Linked DNA regions of Homo sapiens: region 2 is linked to region 1. Evidence: promoter capture Hi-C in 16 types of primary human blood cells and fetal thymus (Javierre and others, 2016). All regions are on one chromosome and are shown on one strand. Each heading gives the region's core, a stretch centred on a gene start or on the middle of the fragment in contact. The rest is flanking DNA. Distances are from core to core; before and after follow the strand shown. Region 1 holds the start of ZSCAN2 (zinc finger and SCAN domain containing 2). Region 2 overlaps ZNF592 (zinc finger protein 592).

The links. Contacts are between HindIII fragments. The CHiCAGO score rates a contact against its expected background, and 5 or more counts as called.
Region 2: a fragment that was not itself captured here is called in contact with the fragment with the promoter of ZSCAN2 in region 1 in 2 of 17 cell types (activated CD4 T cells and naive CD8 T cells); the score reaches 6.8 in activated CD4 T cells.

What each region holds. Positions count from the first base shown.
Region 1 is chr15:84,599,705-84,603,022 of GRCh38, forward strand. ZSCAN2 (zinc finger and SCAN domain containing 2) reads left to right here and starts at 1,305. Exons shown (of 3, transcript NM_181877.4): 1 at 1,305-1,431. It overlaps LOC105370947 (a long non-coding RNA gene), which reads right to left. Exons shown (of 4, transcript NR_186225.1): 4 at 1-99. RefSeq lists an enhancer at 1,153-1,202 and a silencer at 1,523-1,672. The HindIII fragment of the contact is 3,007 bases long and covers 1-1,925 here.
Region 2 is chr15:84,766,931-84,770,246 of GRCh38, forward strand. The region is part of intron 2 of ZNF592 (zinc finger protein 592); the gene reads left to right. Among named protein-coding and RNA genes, the nearest start is that of ZNF592, 20 kb to the left of the region's middle. RefSeq lists an enhancer at 1-159. The HindIII fragment of the contact is 3,788 bases long and covers 1-3,316 here.

The DNA.
Region 1 (3,318 bases), core at 55-2,554:
AATTAGCCAGGTGTGGTGGCGCACGCCGGTAATCCCAGCTACTTGGGAGGCTGAGGCAGGAGAATCACTTGATCCGAGATCGTGTCACTGCACTCCAGCCTGGGCGACAGAGGAGGAAAAAAAAAAGCAGTCATTTCATTGCAGGTGCCTCCAGTAATTGCTCAGTGCAAACATACATAACTATTCTATCACAGACCATTAAGGGTGTCTCTCTCCATTTTTAGATTTTCCGCTTGAGTTTCCAGGTAGTTTCTCACCTGTTTTCAAGCAGGGTTGGGGCAGCCGTTTCTTCAACAGCGCCAGCCGTAAAACACAAAGATGGAGGCCAACCTCCCACACCCGGGCACCCTCCCTTCCCCCATACTGAGATTGACAAGTAAGCAACCCGGTGATCAGTACTAAAATGGAGACGTCAGCCAGGTGCGGTGGCTCACACCTGTAATTCCAGCACTTTGGGAGGCTGAGGAGGAAGGATCGCTTGAGCCCAGGGGTTCGAGGTCAGCCTGGGCAACATATGGAAACCCTGTCTCTATGAAATGTAGATCCTGTCTGTGAGTGTGTGTGTATAAATAAATATATATATATATATACAAATACATACATATATATATTTAAAAAATAAAATGGGGACGTCCAACACGTGTACTAGGGGCGGTGTCTCTGCCTGGGGAGGTGGTGATGACAGGGCAGGCTCCACCCAGGAGAAGCTGGAAGAATGGGAGTTCCGCGGCAGAGGAGGCGGGGCAGGGCGTTCCTCCAAACACAGGAATACCACGTGCGAAAACAAAGGGGTGTGCGAAGACCGGGTGCATGTGTACAGCTGCAAACTGGGGGAAAGGCGCCAGGCTTGGGCGATGAGGATTTGTTCCCCCATGGATTCCCTTCCTGCCCAGGGTCCGCTCTCGCCGGTCGAGGGTGCCTAACAATACTCCTTGCCACAAGGTTCGCAGCCGAAAAGGTCCTTCAAGTCCGGCCATCCAACTTTCACTTTTTATAGACAAATATACAGAGGCCTTAGATAAGTGAAACGGCTTGTCTCGGGTTACAGCTCTAGCCAACACAGGGTTTCTGACGGTCAGTCTGCGGATTTTCCTGCCTCTGGTCCGCAGGCACTGCCCAGGCTGTCAGCCCCAAACCCTACTCCGGGGACCGCGGTCAGGTTCGTCTCCGGGCGGACTACATCTCCCACAATGCCTTGGGCCCAGCCTCCCTCCTGCCGCCCGGCTGGGTGCCGTCTCCACCAACAGAAAGGCAGAATTTCCAGGGCCGTTCTCGGCAGCCAATGAGCGCGGCGGTGGGCGGGCCTCTCCCGTCCATTGTTCTCGGTGCCCCACGGGCTTGAGCCGGGGTGAATCTGGAGGGGCCGGGCCGAGCCCGGGGGCGCTTTCGCACGCGAAGCAACCGCTAGAGCAGGACCTGGTCTCCCGAGAGGTGAGCCGGAGAGGCAGGCCTGGAGCCACGCGGACCCCGGGCAGTAGCCCGAGGTGAGGGAATAGTGGGCCTGGAGCCAGCTGCCGGCAGCTCTGCTGGGGGAGGGGCGTCGGGGTCGCGCTCCGTATCCTGCGGGCCCTGCAGCCCCGATTTACGCGCCGGCTCCGCTCAGCGAACCGTCCCGGACGCGTCTCCCTGGCGGAGAGCTCCTTGCCTCTCCTACCGAGAAGCGCAGGCTTTGGACGGGAAGGGGCATTCGACGACATCCCGCGCAGCGTACACGTTTTACAGATGGGGAAACTGAGGTTCAGAGGGGGCGTGTCGTGCCCCAAGTCAGACCGCAAATTAGCTGACCTGGCACACTTTTCCCAGGCTCCCAAGTAGGAAGAGTTCTCTTACACCATATGCCAGTATTTCTTCTAGTCATTTGAGTAAATACACGTTGAGAGCTTCGGTTTTCCCACTAGCTTTTATTTTTTGTCCTTTTTTTTTTAAGCTTTTGTCAGCTTTTCTCCCCTTTTCATTGAGGGAGGGTTGTTAGTTGAGTCTTTATGATGTAGTAATGATTTTTTAAAAAATTTTTTTATTTTTGTAGAGACTGGGTCTCACTCTGTTGCCCAGGTTGGTCATGAACTCCCGGCCTCAAGCCATCTTCCCTCCTCGGCCTCCCAAAGTGCTGGAATTACAGGCGTGAGCTACAGCGCTTGGGCTAAAAATAATTTTGTATTGCTTTTATAATATTTTAAGTCGTTTGCAATTCCACTGCTTTCAATATTTTGTAGGTGCCGTCCCGTTCTTTTTTCCTGTGAGTTCATTTTTTTTTTTTTTTTTTTTTGAGACGGAGTTTTGCTTTTGTTGCCCAGGCTGGAGTGCAATGGCCTGATCTCCGCTCACCGCATCCTCTGCCTCCCGGGTTCAAGCGATTCTCCTGCCTCAGCCTCCGGAGTAGCTGGGATTACGGGCATGCGCCACCACGCCTGGCTAATTTTGTTTTTAGTAGAGACGAGGTTTCTCCGTGTTGGTCAGGCTGGTCTCGATCTTCCGACCTCAGGTGATCCGCCCGCCTCAACCTGCCAAAGTGCTAGGATTACAGGTCTGAGCCACCGCGCCCGGCTGTGAGTTCATTTTTAAAGGGAATTGAGGACTTACTGTGTCTATGGTTTTTCTGCCCTGCTGATTTTGTGTTTATCCATTATTTTCCTATCAGAAGGATTATCTTAAATCATTAATGATTAATCTTTGTCAATATAATTTTTAAAATATTAAAAACATACAGCGTAATGTGCAGATCTTAAATTTCATATGTTTGCTCTTGTGCCGCCATTGCCAAATGAAGATATTGAAAATTTCCATCATCCCAGAAGGCTCCTTTGAGCCCCTTTCCTGTCATTACCACCTAAAGGTAGCCATTATTATAGCACAGTTTCTTTTCTTTTTTTTCCTTTTCTTTTCTTTTTTTTTTTTTTTTTTTGAGACAGAGTCTGGCTCTTTCGCCCAGACTGGAGTGCAGTGGCACGATCTCGGCTCACTGCAACCTCCTCCTCCCAGGTTCGGGCAATTCTCCTGCCTCAGCCTCCTGAGTAGCTGGGATTACAGGCGCCCGTCACCATGCCTGGCTAATTTTTGTATTTTTGGTAGAGACGGGGTTTCACTATATTGGCCAGGCTGGTCTCGAACTCCTGACCTCAAGTGATCCGCCTGCCGAGGCCTCCCAAAGTGCTGGGATTACAGGCAACCACGCCAAGCCTATAGCACAGTTTCTAATACATGCTGCTATATGGGTGTGTCATAGTTTATTAGCCATTCCCTGCTGCTGGATTTTTAAGGACTCGATTTTTTGGTTATTTTTTTAAGATAAAGTACTGAGGGGCCGAGGCTGGATTGGAG
Region 2 (3,316 bases), core at 614-3,113, 170 kb after region 1:
TAAGACTGGTGGCACCCTCAAAACCACCAAAGAAAGAGTGATCCTGTGAAATGGCCACTTTCTGTTTTCTTTTTGTTTTTCCGAGATGGAGTCTCATTCCGTAGCCCAAGCTGGAATGCAGTGGCGTGATCTCGGCTCACTACAGCCTTCGCCTCTGGGGCTCAAGTGATTCTTCTGCCTCAGCCTCCCAAGTAGCTGGGACTAGAGGCGTACACCACCACACCCGGTTAATTTTTTTGTATTTTTAGTAATTTTTTTGTATTTTTGTAGAGATTTTTTGTATTTTTAGTTTCACCATGTTGCCTGGGTGGTCTCGAACTCCTGAGCTCAGGCGATCCGCCCGCCTCGGCCTCCGAAAGTGCTGGAATTACAGATGTGAGCCACCGTACCCGGCCAACACTGTTTTCTAGGGTCCTTTGCGTCGGAAGTTGAGGCTTGGTTCCCAGCAGGTCTGAGGCTGCTGGCTTCTTGCTTAAATTTAGGGGTCCCCACTACCAAGAGATGATGCATTTACAAAGTTTACTGGGAGGAACACACCAGGATGGTGTGTGAACAAGAGGAGTCCTGTCCCCCTTTTTCTCAAATCTCTGGGTCCTGTTTCCTTCTAACAAAGTGTGGTGCTAGGTTATTGCTGAGATCTGTTTGCAAAGAAGGAAAGGTAAAGGGGGTACGGGTTACAAAGTATCAGTTTGTATCTAAATTGTCAGCTCTGTGTAAACTGTGCTTGCTGCCTATGCCTAGTTTCTGCTTGTCCCAGTCAGTTTTATTGTCTTGTATAATCCCAGCTCCCTCCAGTTCTGTCTTTTTCTATCTTTTAAAAAATATAGCAGCTTTATTGAGATATAATTCACATGCCATACAATTTACCCATTTAAAGTGCACAATTCAATGGTATTTCAGTTTGTTCACGGACTTGTATTTTCTTTTTTTTTATTTGTTTCTTTTCTTTTCTTTTCTTTTTTTTGAGACAGGGTTTTGCTGTGTCACCTACCCTGGAGTGCAATGGTGCAATCACAGCTCACTGCAGCCTCAACCTCCCAGGCTCAAGCAATCCTCCCACCTCAGCCTTTTGAGTAGCTGGGACTACAGACATGTGCCACCACGCCCAGCTAATTTTAATTTTAATTTTAATTTTTTTTTTTTGTAGAGATGGGGTTTTGCCATGTTGCCCAGCTGGTATTGAACTCCTGGCCTCAAATGATCTACCTGCCTTGGCCTCACGCTTGGGATTACAGCCACGAGCCATAGTGCCTAGCCAGTATCTTCTTATCTTCTTTCCTTTTCTTTCTTTCTTTCTTTCTTTTTTTTTTTTTTTTTTTTGAGACAGTTGTGCTCTGTCGCCCAGGCTGGAGACTGGAGTGCAGTGGCGCGATCCCAGCTCACTACAACCTCTGCCTCCTGGGTTCAAGCGATTCTCCTGCCTTAGCCTCCCAAGTAGCTAGGATTACAGGTGTGCACCACCACACCTGGCTAATTTTTGTATTTTTAGTAGAGACAAGGTTTCATCATGTGGACCAGGCTGGTCTTGAACTCCTGACCTCAAGTCATCCACCTGTCTCAGCTTCCCAAAGTGCTGGGATTACAGGCATGAGCCACCGTGCCCAGCCTTTTGTGTCTTTTTTTCTTAAGACTCATTCCCACCCTGTACCTACCTCTTCCCTATGGTTCTCAGAGCTAGCCTTTTCTTTCCTCTGGTGTCACACTGATCCCATCCTCAAAACAAATGACCTTATGGGACATCGGCCAATAGGCACCCCCCACTGATAAAATATTTAATTTAATCAGCCATTACAGGGATCCAGGATTCATAGACAAGGGTACTTTAGGTAGACCCCTTCCCACTGGCGAGGTCCCATAACCACTGAAGGTCTCTCTAAAATTTTAAAAAGTGAAACAAAAATTTGCATATTTGCAAAATGTTTGATTCATAATAAGCCCACTTGGGAATCTGTGATTATCTTGAACAATCTTAATTCTGGACAAATGAGCTTGTCAAATTGTTCTTCCTCCTTTCTTTTATTTTTTTTTGAGACATGGTGTCCATCTGTTGCCCAGACTGGAGTGCAATAGCACGATCGTGGCTCACTGCAACCTCCACTTCCTGAGTTCAAGCAATTCTCCTGCCTCAGCCTCCTGAGTAGCTGGGATTACAGGTGTCCACCACCATGCCTGGCTAATTTTTGTATTTTTAGTAGAGACAGGGTTTCACCATGTTGGTGAGGCTGGTCTTGAACTCCTGACCTCAGGTGATCAGCCCACCTCTGCCTCCCAAAGTGCTGGAATTATAGGCATGAGCCACTGTGCCTGGCCTGTTCCTTCTTTCTAATGGTGGATTACCTTCCTGTAAACACACTGGAATTTACAGAAAGACAAGAAGGTAATGAACAATTACATAATATATGCTAGGTGGTGATAAGTGCTGGGAAGAAAATAAAGCAGTGTAAAGGGATAAAGATTGATGGTTGGGTTGGGGATTGGTGTCTCATGTAGAACGGTCATGGAAGGCTCCTGACAAAGTGACATTGGATTAAAGGCCTGAAGAAGTGAGGAAGTGAGCCCACCGAGATCTGGTGGGAGAATGTTTCAAGCAGAGGGAGTGGTGACTGCAGAGGCTCAGAATGGAGCATGACCAGCATGCCTGAGGAACGTAAGGAGGCCTTTGTGTGCCTGGACAGACTGGGTGAGAGAGAGGCATAGGAGATGGGGGCAGTGAGATCATCCCGGCTGTGGAGGCTGTGGGAAAGATGGGATTTCACTCTGAGGGAGATGGGATGGTGTTGAAGGGTTTTGAAGAGAGTAGGGACATGATGTGATGTGTGCTTTAAGATTTTTAAATTATCTTATTATTTTTTGAGATGGGGTCTCACTGTGTTGCCTAGGCTGGAGTGCAGTGGCTATCCTCAGGTGCATTCCTGGCTCACTGCAGCCTCAAATTCCTGGGCTCAAGTGATCCTCCTACCTCAGCCTCCTGAGTAGCTGGTACTACAGGCATGGGCCACTGTGCCCAGTGGCAACGTATGTTTCAAAAGCAATACTCTGGCTGCTGTGTTGGGAATGACTAGTAGAGGCAAGGGTGGAAGCAAGAAGATCAGTTGGCAGGCTTTTGTGGGAACACAGGAGAGAGATGATGGTAGAGGTGGTGAGAAATGGCTGGACTTGAATATATTTTGAAGGTTGAGTTGACAGGATGTGCTTGTGGATTGGATGAAGGGTGTGAAAGAAAGAGAGGTTTAGGCCTAAGCAGCTGGAAGAATGGCATTGTCATTTACTGAAATGCGGAAGGCTGTAGGAGGAAATCAAGAGCTAGATTTTAGAC